Linked DNA regions of Homo sapiens: regions 1 and 2 are each linked to region 3. The links are contacts of gene promoters, found by promoter capture Hi-C in human tissues and cell types (Jung and others, 2019). All regions are on one chromosome and are shown on one strand. Each heading gives the region's core, a stretch centred on a gene start or on the middle of the fragment in contact. The rest is flanking DNA. Distances are from core to core; before and after follow the strand shown. Region 1 has its middle 45 kb from the start of HAND2. Region 2 overlaps HAND2-AS1 (HAND2 antisense RNA 1). Region 3 holds the start of HAND2 (heart and neural crest derivatives expressed 2).

The links. Contacts are between HindIII fragments. The study calls those that stand out against the background at their distance.
Region 1: a fragment that was not itself captured here is called in contact with the fragment with the promoter of HAND2 in region 3 in 2 of the 25 tissues and cell types used here (H1 embryonic stem cells and spleen).
Region 2: a fragment that was not itself captured here is called in contact with the fragment with the promoter of HAND2 in region 3 in 3 of the 25 tissues and cell types used here (H1 embryonic stem cells, dorsolateral prefrontal cortex and spleen).

The regions. Positions count from the first base shown.
Region 1 is chr4:173,483,391-173,487,303 of GRCh38, forward strand. It overlaps a transcript of SCRG1 not described here. Among named protein-coding and RNA genes, the nearest start is that of HAND2, 45 kb to the right of the region's middle. The HindIII fragment of the contact is 4,911 bases long and covers 1-3,913 here.
Region 2 is chr4:173,580,456-173,584,398 of GRCh38, forward strand. It overlaps HAND2-AS1 (HAND2 antisense RNA 1), which reads left to right. Exons shown (of 5, transcript NR_136196.1): 4 at 2,250-2,423. Among named protein-coding and RNA genes, the nearest start is that of HAND2-AS1, 52 kb to the left of the region's middle. The HindIII fragment of the contact is 4,794 bases long and covers 1-3,943 here.
Region 3 is chr4:173,527,853-173,531,952 of GRCh38, forward strand. It overlaps HAND2 (heart and neural crest derivatives expressed 2), which reads right to left and starts at 2,377. Exons shown (of 2, transcript NM_021973.3): 1 at 883-2,377. The coding sequence starts at 1,437. It overlaps HAND2-AS1 (HAND2 antisense RNA 1), which reads left to right and starts at 2,519. Exons shown (of 5, transcript NR_136196.1): 1 at 2,519-2,687; 2 at 3,115-3,226. The HindIII fragment of the contact is 12,639 bases long and covers 1-4,100 here.

The sequences.
Region 1 (3,913 bases), core at 883-3,382, 45 kb before region 3:
TTATATCATGATATATATTATATATTATATCATGATATAGTATATATTATATATTATATCATGATATATATTATATATTATATTCTGATATATAATATATTATATATTATATTCTGATATATAATATATATTATATATTGTATTATGATATATAATATATATTATATATTGTATTGTGATATATAATATATATGATATATTATATTGTGATATATAATATATATGATATATTATATTGTGATATATAATATATATGATATATTATATTGTGATATATAATATATATGATATATTATATTGTGATATATCATATATATGATATATTATATTGTGATATATCATATATATGATATATTATATGTGATATATCATATATATGATATATGATATATCATATATCATATATATGATATATGATATGTAATATATATAATATATATAATATATAATATATAATATATATTTCATATTACATATGTTATATATATTTCATATAATATATGTTATATATATTTCATATAATATATGTTATATATTTCATATATAATATAAATCATATATAATATATTATATATTTTATATAATATATAGTATATTATATATGATATATATTACATATTATATAATATATTATAATATACATATATAATTATAAATATAATATACATAATATATAATATACATGATATAATATATAATATACCATATATAATATATAATATATAATATACAATATATAATATATAATATAGAATATAGAATATTTTCTACATTATATATAATATATAATATATTTTCTATATTATATATTATATATATTTTCTATATTATATATAATATATATTTATATATTATATATTTTCTATATAATATATATTTTATATATCATATATTTTCTATGTAATGTATATTTTATATATTATATATTTTATACATAATATATTTAACATATTATATAATATATAATATATATTATATATTATATATTATGTATATTTTATACATTATATATTATATACATATAATATATATTATATATTATATACATATGATATATAATATATATTATATACATATAATATATAATATATATTATATACATATAATATATATTATATATTATATACATATAATATATATTATATATTATGTATATTTTATATGTTATATATTATGTATATTTTATATATTATACATTATGTATATTTTATGTAGTATATATTATATGCATGTAATATATATTATATGCATATAATATATATTATATATTATATATAACATGATGTATAATATATATTATATATTATATGCATATAATACATATTATATATTATATGCATATAATACATATTATATATTATATACATATAATACATATTATATATTATATACATGTAATACATATTATATATTATATATTATACATATAATATATATTATATGTACAATATATTATATATAATATATATTATGTATATTTTATATATTATATATTATATACATATATAATATACATTATGTATATTTTAGATATTATATATTATATTATATATTATATATAATATTATATATATTATATATAATATTATAAATATAATATATAATATATTATAAATATAATATATAATATATAATATATTATATATTATATATTATATAATATATTATATATTATATATTATATATTATATAATATATTATATATTATATATTATATATTATATAATATATAATATATCATATATATTACATATAATGTAATATATAATATATTATATATATTATATATTACATTATATGTAATATATATGATATATTATATATAGGATAAATTTTTTTTTTAAAAAGGAATGAGGCAAAAATGATGTCATGTGACTTCTCAGCCTTGGTCTCAAGAAGCCTTGCAAGTTTTGCTTTCATTGTCTACCAAGTGAATTAGTCACTACCAAGTAAATCAGACCTAGCTGTCTTGCTGGAAACACATGGCCCAGCTGACAGCCAACAACAAGTACCAAACATGACTGAGGCTATCTGGGCCATTCAGCCTCATGTAAGCCATTAGATGACTGAGGCTGCCTGAGTGATCCCAGACAAACCCAGCAGAAGAACTACCAGCTGGGCCCAGCACAAATTGCAGAATTACGAGCAATTTAATGGTAGTTGTTTTAAGCCATTAAGTTTTGCGATAGTTTGTTATACCATACTATCTAACCACTTCAAGAGGATACATAGATTTTTATCTGATTCTCAAAGATTATGAACTACTACTGAAGTTGAATTAGATTGTTAAAAATTGTGGCTGGGCCCTGTGGCTCATGCCTGCAATCCCAGCACTTTTGGAGGCTGAGACAGGCAGATCACTTGAGGTCGTGAGTTTGAGACCAGCCTGTTCAACATGGTGAAACCCCGCCTCTACTAAAAATACAAAAATTAGCCAGGTGTGGTGGCACACACCTGTAATCCCAGCTACTCGCGAGGCTGAGGCATGAGCATCTCTTGAACTTGGGAGGTGGAGGTTGCAGTGAGCCGAGATTGTGCCACCGCACTCCAGCCTGGGCAACAGAATGAGACTCTGTCTCAAAAACAACAAAAAAAATTGTATGATTCCCTGTCTCTCTACTCTCTTCATAAACTATGTCAAAGGCATGATTTAATTTAGCAAATCTTGCATTCAAACTGCATTTTAAAGTAAATCCTAGAATTATGTAACTGAAGAATCAGCAGGCCCTGGAGTCTGTAGTTCAGAGAATTTCTCTTCTTTCCTCTTGAAAAAGTATGTTGGGCAGTGTTTAGGCATCTCTTTCATTCTCCATATTTTTTAAAGATTAAAGCAATTTCATCTGAAACTTCTATTTACATTTTGGTTTGTTATTTCCAGGCCAGTGTTTAAACTTATTTATGACAGTTAGAATCTGCTCCTAGGTGATTTTAACCTTAAATTCTTTCTTACCAAAGAGTCTGAGAGTGTTCCATTTTGCATCCTTCACCACTGACATAATGCCATCACAGCTGGCCATGTATCGTAGGCTTTCTTGCTTTGGATTCAAACAGCCCTTTTCATCATCTAGAATGTTAACCTCCTTTTAAACTTTCTGACTCTTCTCACATATTCTTGACAGATTTTTTTTTCCATGCTTGTTTTTCTAGATCAGCTTTTGCATTTAACACACACCATTTAAAAATATATCTGATCTCAGCAGACAGCTTCCTACCCAAAGACACTAAATCTTTTTGGCTACCTCCTTCCTTTTTCTTTTCTTCTTCTTCTTCTTTTCCTTCCTGCGTTGGACCATTTACAATAGTAGCATCAGAATTTTATTTTGAGGAATCTCCTCTGCTTCTTTTTGGAATCTCAGACTGGGGTGTCAAAGTCAAGCTTTTATAATTTCCTGAAATATTTTTAGGCTCAGACTAACAGAGTGTGTGTCTGGCAGTGACCACATCCCTCTGGAATTTTCTGATGGCCAGGTGGCCCTCTTCCAGGGTTCCTGTCACTTCTGATTTTCCATTCAGGGCCTCCTTGTTGGCCAGAATTAGAAGCAGGGTGTTAATCCTCCTCCTCACTTCCTCTCCGTCTCCCTTCTGAAAGATGAAATTATCATTTGGGTTACTGATTCTTACCCTGGCTGCACATTCAAATCACTTGGGGAGCTTAAAAAGAAAAAAAGTCTGAGGCCCCACCCTGAGAGAGTCTGCTTTAATTAGTATGGGGTGGAGCCTGCCTGTCAATTTTTTATTTTAAATTCTGGGACTATTCTAATGTGCAGGCAGGGCTGAGAATACTAATTGAGGCAAATCATGGACTTATCAGATGTTCTGAATTTAGGAAATGAGACATCTGGCAGATGGCTGGATAGTTGAAGCTCTCACCATTAAGATTTTGAATGCCTCTTTTCTCCAGTCCATTACACTT
Region 2 (3,943 bases), core at 578-3,077, 52 kb after region 3:
TCATATATAAAGCATTTGTCTCTCTCCTTTAATTTCATATGCCTGGCAGTTTACAAAATGTCCCATAATAATCTAAGGCACATTTATGGTTGTGAATTTACCTTATTAAAAACATAGTTGGTTTTTGCAGAAACTTTCATATGAAAAATACAGAGGACAATTCTCTTGGAAAGCATCCTTCAAGAAAATTATTGGGCTTAGACGAAACATTTTGATTTGCTAGGAAATGAAAATACTGACTTTTCAGATTTCTTGATGATGGAATATTCTAGAGGTACAAAATGCATCCAAAGTCAAACTCTAAGACAAATCTTTTAAACAAGATTTCATTTCAATATTGTAGTTTATGATTTTACATTTCATTTCAGTTTGAAGCTTTTCATTCTTACAATTGCTTAACCACATTTTCATATTAGGCAACTCTAGGCAGTTATATATATATATATATATATATTATAGTTGGCCAAGGATTCCAAATGATTGCATGAGTTTTTAAAAGCTTATTTAAAAAAACAGATATAAATGCAATTCACTTGCACATTGTAGGCAAACAAGAAACCTAATGGAGACAGACACATTTTAATGCACAGGTTGCTTATATGAGGCTTTATGTGTCCAATATATGTTTTTCTGAGTACTTAACTACTAAGCTGATGGGTACCAGAAAAAAAGTCACAGATATAAAAGAACAAATGAGTTCACAGATATCTATACCAGAATTGTTAACTTAGCGAATGTTTCCTTGAAAACAGGATATAGTGAATCTGCATATATTTAATGGAAAGTGGTTGTATTTACTGGAGAATTAGGAGAAATGACTTCTTAATGGAGCCAGAAGTTCTGATCTGCTATCCTTCAAAGAAAGACTGTTTCCCAGGCTGGCCAAAATTCCTATGGAGCAACCTATGCCTATTGATAAGTTATCGGATTCCTCTCCGGAATCAGCTGGTCAGGAAGGATACAGAGGGGAGGAAGGGGAAGGGAGAGGAGATTCCGATAGTGGCGCTGTCTGATTGCCAAGGTAGGAGTGGGTGGAGAGTTGAGAAAGGAATAGTAAGAGAGGTAAAAGGAAAGAGAACAGGAAAGAAGAGAAAAATCAAAAAGAAACAAAGCAGAGGCCAAGCAGGGTGATAATAGCCATATAGAAAGGGCATCCTTGTAAATGGAACAGCATTCCAGATCTCCAGGCTCATTAGAATGGGGGATTGCTCACCTGGATTGCATGAACTTCTCAAGTCTCTGAACCCACTGAAATTGTATACATATTTTGGGAGTATGTATATGTGCATTTTTTTCTGCCTGGGGAAAGTGTTCTTTTCTTTGATCTGATTCACCAAGGGGTCCAAGACTCAATAAAATTTAAGAACTACTAATTTAGTGGGATTATACACAAATTTTAAAGACAAGTGTCTTTAAAGGAGTCATCGAATGCTTAAGATTGACTGTACATAATCCAAGAATGTTACCATCTAGTATTAAGTTGTATATTCTGGGAAGAGTATCCCAGAATATCCCATGTCTTTCAGACATGTAGAATGATAGCTGTTCATTGAAATGCTATTAAAATAAGTTTTTTTGAGACAAGGTCTCACTCTGTCGCCCAGGCTGGAATGCAGTGGTGTGATCAGGCTTACTGCAGCCTCTACCTCCTGAGCTCAAGTGATCCTCCCACCTCAGCCTCCTGAGTAGCTGGGACTATAGGCACGTGCCACTATGCCTGGCTAATTTTTTTTGTAATTTTGTAGACACAGGGTTTCGCCATGTTGCCTAGGCTGGTCTTGAACTTCTGGGTTCAAGGGATCCACTAACCCAAGTGCTGGGATTACAGGAGTGAACCACTGCCCTGGCCTTCAGCCAAATACTATTGATTGACCATTTGCACTAAGTTAAGTCAGCATTTTTCTCATTGAGTGCCCTGGGAGTGTGGAGAAACAGTGTGGTATGGGGGAAAGGGCATTAATTTGGAGCCAGATATTTCTGGGACTCAGGTACTATATGGAATTCAAACTAGTTTAGTGAAACTAGGAGGCTGATATGGCCTCCTTAACTCTGTATCCTCTTCTGTAAATGAAGAGGATGATCATTACTTCATAGGGCTGTTGTAGAAATGAAAAGAAATGCAATACTAGCCTACATTTATTGGATACTTACTATCTCTCATTCACTATGATATGTTTTCTGTGCTTTATGCAATTTAATCTTCTCAACAATTTGATGAGATTGATGTTATATTTATTTCTATTTTACAGATGGGGAAATTGAGGCAGAGAAGCCAAGACATGTGCTAAAGGTCATGCAGGCTATGAATGGAGCTGGAATGTGAACGCAGGCCATATGACCCCAGAGCCCATGTTCTTGAACCCTTAGAAAGACAGCAGCAACACACCTGGTGCAGCAGCTGCTTAGTTGGAGTGGCTGACAAGGTTGGCAGAGGATCCCGTTCCTCCCGTGGAGTGGCTGCCATGATACTGCCTGCACTGAAGCTGCTCCTATTTCTGAAATATGTATTGTTATTTTTTTCCCTGCATGTTGAACATTATACTCTTCTGTTCTTTCGCATTCTCTTCTTCCCTTCCGGATGACTTCTAGGGTTTTTGTGATTCTGTAATTCTAAAGGAGAAAGGATAATAAGAATTGTGAGGCCGGGCGCGGTGGCTCATGCCTGTAATCACAGCACTTTGGGAGGCCAAGGTGGGCGGATCACTAGGTGAGGAGATGGAGACCATCCTGGCTAACACGGTGAAACCCCGTCTCTACTAAAAATACAAAAAATTAGCGGGGTGTGGTGGCGGGCGCCTGTAGTCCCAGCAACTCGGGAGGCTGAGGCAGGAGAATGGCGTGAACCCGGGAAGCGGAGCTTGCAGTGAGCCGAGATTGCGCCACTGCACTCCAGCCTGGGCGAAGAGGGAGACTCCATCTTAAAAAATTAAAAAAAAAAATTACAGAAAATTAGCTGGGCGCGGTGGCGGGCGCCTATAGTCCCAGCTACTCGGGAGGCTGAGGCAGGAGAATGACGTGAACCCGAGAAGCGGAGCTTGCAGTGAGCCAAAATCGCGCCACTGCACTCCAGCCTGGGCGGCAGAGCGAGACTCCGTCTCAAAAAAAAAAAAAAAAGAATTGTGATGTGAGTGTCCAAAAAAACCCTGATTTCCAATCACCTACACATGGCTGTTTCCTAGATACACCAGAAAAAATTGTGACTTTCCGGATACCTAGTTTCCCTCCCTCCCTCCCTCCCTCCCTTCTTCCCTCCCTCCCTCCCTCCCTCCCTCCCTCCCTTCCTTCCTTCCTTCCTTCCTTCCTTCCTTCCTTCCTTCCTTCCTTCCTTCCTCCCTTCCTCTCTCTTTCCCTTTCCTTTTCCTTTTCCCTTTCCCTTCCATTCCCTTCCCCGCTTTTTATTTCTGGATACCTGGTGTTCTATCAGAATGAGATCTGCACAAGTATTATCCTAGCAACACAGGATCCCACCTACTCAACACACCTTTAAAAAACTCCTCGAATTGGCTGGGCGCGGTTGCTCACACCTGTAATCCCAGCACTTTGGGAGGCCGAGGCGGGCAGATCACGAAGTCAGGAGATCGAGACCATCCTGGCCAACATGGTGAAACCCCGTCTCTGCTAAAATACAAAAAATTAGCGGGGCGTAGTAGTACGCGCCTATAGTCCCAGCTACTCCGGAGGCTGAGGCAGGGGAATTGCTTGAACTTGGGAGGCGGAGGTTGCAGTGAGCCGAGATTGCGCCACTGGACTCCAGCCTGGAAACAGAGCGAGACACCGTCACAAACAAACAAACAAACAAACAAACAAACAAACTAGAACTGTACATTTTTTTTTAAGTTAGCCAACTTTCTGTGGGCAATTACATAATGTGAGCAGGCATTATATGACTTTGTGCTTTACATTCAAAGAAAGTTCAAAGCTTTTCTTCTTTTGGAGTGGTTTC
Region 3 (4,100 bases), core at 1,127-3,626:
TTCGGGAGGTCACTCGATTATGCAGCCACCAAAGGGCTGCAGGGGCCAAAGAAGAAAAATTCGACAAATGCAATTATTTTCCGGGCCCTTCGTGGACATAGCTCTATCCTGCACCACTGCCCTGTGGGCACTTGGTAGGAATCTGAGAAAATTTTAAGCGGCTCAATTTACTTTCGTGTTATTTTTAATAACAATGACCATAGTAATGCCTTTTCCCCCTTAAAATGTACAGGCTTATTCAAATAAAATTAGAAATGCCAATGGAATATACTCATCTGGGAAATTACATTTTAACGTCATAGCCAAGGAAAAATTGGAGCTGTATTTTGAAGTCAAAAGTACTTATTTTATGTTTACCATTACGTTTTCCGGGCATAGTATGAGAACAACCACAAAACTCAGGGCTCAGTCTCTGGCAGCCTCCTTCTGGGAGTGGGGTAGGGGGTGCGATCAATAGTGAAATAATTGGAATCAAGGGCTTCTTCGAGACTTATTCTGGAAACATCTGAAAGCAAGATTGGATTGGAGGCCAAAAGAAGGGTCTAACAGAGACGGGGTGAGGCATCCAGACCAGTGCGATCGCGATCGATCGCGACCCAGAGTTTTCAAGGTCCGTCCTAAGTACTAGGGGAGCAGCGATAACCCGGAGGTAAGATCACCAGCGCAAAGCATCCCTAACCTTCTCCTCCTCCTGCTGACACCCTCCCCTCAACTCTCTGCTTATGCCGGAAGCCATCCTTACACAACCTGGTGCAAACAACCTTGAAGCGGGACGCAGCCAAAGAACACGAGATGCCATTTCTCAGCCCAATTGGAAAGAGGCCGGGAGCACCAGTTCCCTGACCCCCTCAGCCCCACCGCCTGCCGCCCCCTGGTACTGACCAGCTCCTTCTTCCTCTTCTCCTCTTTCACGTCGGTCTTCTTGATCTCTGCCTTGAAGGCCTCCGCCTCGCCATTCTGGTCGTCCTTGGCCAGCAGGTCCATGAGGTAGGCGATGTAGCTGGTGGCCAGGCGCAGGGTCTTGATTTTGGAGAGTTTGGTGTCGGCGGGTACGTTGGGGATGCACTCGCGCAGTTCGGCGAAGGCGCTGTTGATGCTCTGAGTCCTGCGCCGCTCCTTGCGGTTGGCGGTGCCTCGGCGCTTCACCGGGCGCGGCCCCCCCAGGCCCGGGGGCCCGGCGCCCGGCGGCACCCCCCCGTAATGGGAGTGGTCCAGGCCGGCGGCGCCGCTGGCATACTCGGGGCTGTAGGACAGGGCCATGCTGTAGTCGGGGGGCGACATCTCGGGGTGGCCGATGAGCCAGCCATGGAAGTAGGGGTTCTCCTCATGGCTGCAGCGGCTGGCGGCGGCGGCGGCAGCTGCGGCGGCGGCGGCGGCAAACGGGTAGCCCTCGTGGTGCACCACCGGGTGGTGGGGAAAACCACCTACCAGACTCATTTCGCCCTCCGCGCCCCTCCACGCGCCCCAGCGTGCGCGCAGCCCCGCCGCGCCCTCGGCCCGGGCCCCTGCCTCAGCGCTCGGCGTCCTCCCCCACCCCCCACCCCCCAGCCCCCGGGCGCCCGGGCCCGCCCGGCAGCCGCAGAGGGGGCTGCTGCAGCCCGGGCCCCGTCCCCCCGCCTGGCCAGCCGGGCCCGCCTCAGCAGCGCTGCGGCCGCCGGCTCCCCATGGGGCGCGGCGAGCTGGTCCTGGCACCGTGCGCCCCTGGCCGCCGCCGCCGCCGCCTCCGGTTCCCGCCTTGCTCCACGGCCCGCGCTTCGGCTCCTGCTTCCCGGGCTGCTGCGCGGAGGCAGAATCCTCTCGTGCTCATACAAAGGTGCCGGGGCTCCCGCGAGGCTGGTACGCGGAGTCTCGGGAATCCAAGCCCGGGCCGCGGTCCTGGCACCGAAGCTAACCCGGAATCCAGGGGCGAGTCTGAGCCGCGGCTGGAGGAGCCGGTCCAGCTGTGCCGGGGGGCGGCGGGGTCGACTGCTCACTGCAAAGCTACCTCCGTGCGACCCTCCCCTTCCCGCCTCTTCCCCTCCCCCCACCAGCCCGATCTGGGTTCTTGGGCGCTTATTGTTTTAATGAAATTTTTGGTTGTTGTTGTTTTGGTCCTTAAATGTGATTTTAGCTGCGAGTAACGTGTCCTCGCTCCTCTCGCGCTCTCTCGGAGGGTTTTCAGAGAGGTCTCAGTGCATCCATTTTCTCAGATCCTCTCCTTTCGGGGCAAGGATCTGGGGCCCTGAATGAGCCTTGGAGCTCGAAGACCGCGGCTCGGGCTCTCGGAGGGCTCTGCGCGGTGGCCGAGGAAGCTCCGGGGTGACGGCGGTGGTTCTCCTGGGCTGGACGACGTGAGGGGAGCAAGCGGATTTTCCCAGCAAGATCTCCATGTACAGCTACATCTTTAGGGCCGCTCGGGTTAATATATGTCGTCAGAGGCTCCTCACGCCAATCCCGGGGCGGCAGGGGCGGCGCCTCGAGCTCTCGGCAATAAAACTTTTTGATGTTCACGTTGCTAATTGCCGAGGTCCTCTTCCAGGATTGGCTACCTCCTCATAACCATAAGATAATTAAAACTTGGCGGGGGGGGGGGGCAGGGTTAAAAAAACTTTTTTTATCAGTCAGAGGATAATGCAAGTGTTTAACAGATGCTTCACTATTAAAATATTTTCCCCCCAAGTCTCAAATATTGAAGAATCTCTAACCAGGTACAGTATCACTCTGCTCTCTTTTCTGGTTGAAAAGAAAGAAAGAAAGAAAACGCAGGTATTGCTTTTCGAAGTGCTTTGTAGGTAATCGAGGTAAGAAAATATACGCAGGCAGCCTCTTACAATTTTATGCAGGGGCGCCGGGAGCCTCGTGACGGGCGGTGGGGGCCCCCACAAAGGCGCGGCTGGGAGCTGGCGCTCTTTGCCCCAGCAGGGACGAGGAGCGGCTGGAGAAGGGTGTTTCTTTGACCCGTTTACAGGCTCGAAACGCCGGTCTCAGTGGCTATTGAGTTACCCACCAAGTTACCCCGGTTAGAGCTGTTTGGGGTGGCTCACGTTATTGCGGCAAACTTTGGAGATGACGGCTGAGTCCTCCGGGCGAACATGTCAAGCCGATTGTAAATGCTGTTATTTCCACATCCTTCAGGGACACCAGTCCCTACGAAGACCTTGGGCGATTTTGAAGTGCGGGCACCTCGATTCCCCGAATCTGTAGTGTGGCTGGTATCGGTGTTCCCCTGGTTTAACTAGCCTGTTTGGTAAGTAACTGAATATTTTTTACGGCGTGTTCAGAGCTTATTTTCCAGTTTTTATGAACAAACATATAAATATATCTCTGCATTCCTGCCTCCCTCATAAAAGCGGGCATCTGTGGAAAGCAGGTTTAGTTATCGGAGGGGAACCATTAAACGCCAGTTTAAGAGGCAGGCCGGGAGGACGGCTCGTGGATGTTGAGACTGCTGGCCTTGGTGATCTTGAACGCATTATAACGGAAAATGGATCTCCACTTGTAAGTCACCGGGCCGCGGGGCACCCGGGCCGCAGCGCCCGTGTGGCATGAGCTTCTTGAGAAGGCTCACGTGCGGCGAGGGCGGGTGGTAAATGGCAGGAGCTGAAATCACCCCAGGCTTGGCCCCAAGCCGAGAGGGGAGGCTGATGTGTATATGCAGATTCCACCCGAAGGAGTTCGGTGTGGAAAACGGTGTCAACAGGAGCCCGCGGGCTGTAAATTAGAGGGAGGCGAGGGCCTGCGGCGCCAGCGCGGGACAGGGCGGCCTGGGGCTCGCCGCTGGTCAGGCCAGGTTAGCCCAAGGGAGACCAAAGACTCCACCTTGAGCATCGCCCTTTGGAGGCGGGCAGAGTCCGGCCGCAGGCCACAAAGCGATCCCCACCCGAAGGACTCCACAAGGACAGTCCTTTCCTTGCTCACCGCCGACAAAGTGGTTGGGGCAGGAAGGCGAGGTCAGTGCGAATGGAGGGCGCCCAACTTCGGTGTTGCAGTTGACTCTGTGCTCGGGCTCTGCCCTCCACTAGCCCTAGAGTCTTGGGCAGCAGGATTGAGAAATATATATATTTCAGGTTTGCCGCGGCTGGGCGGTAGGAGACAGGGACTTAAAAGCCCAGGATTAGAGT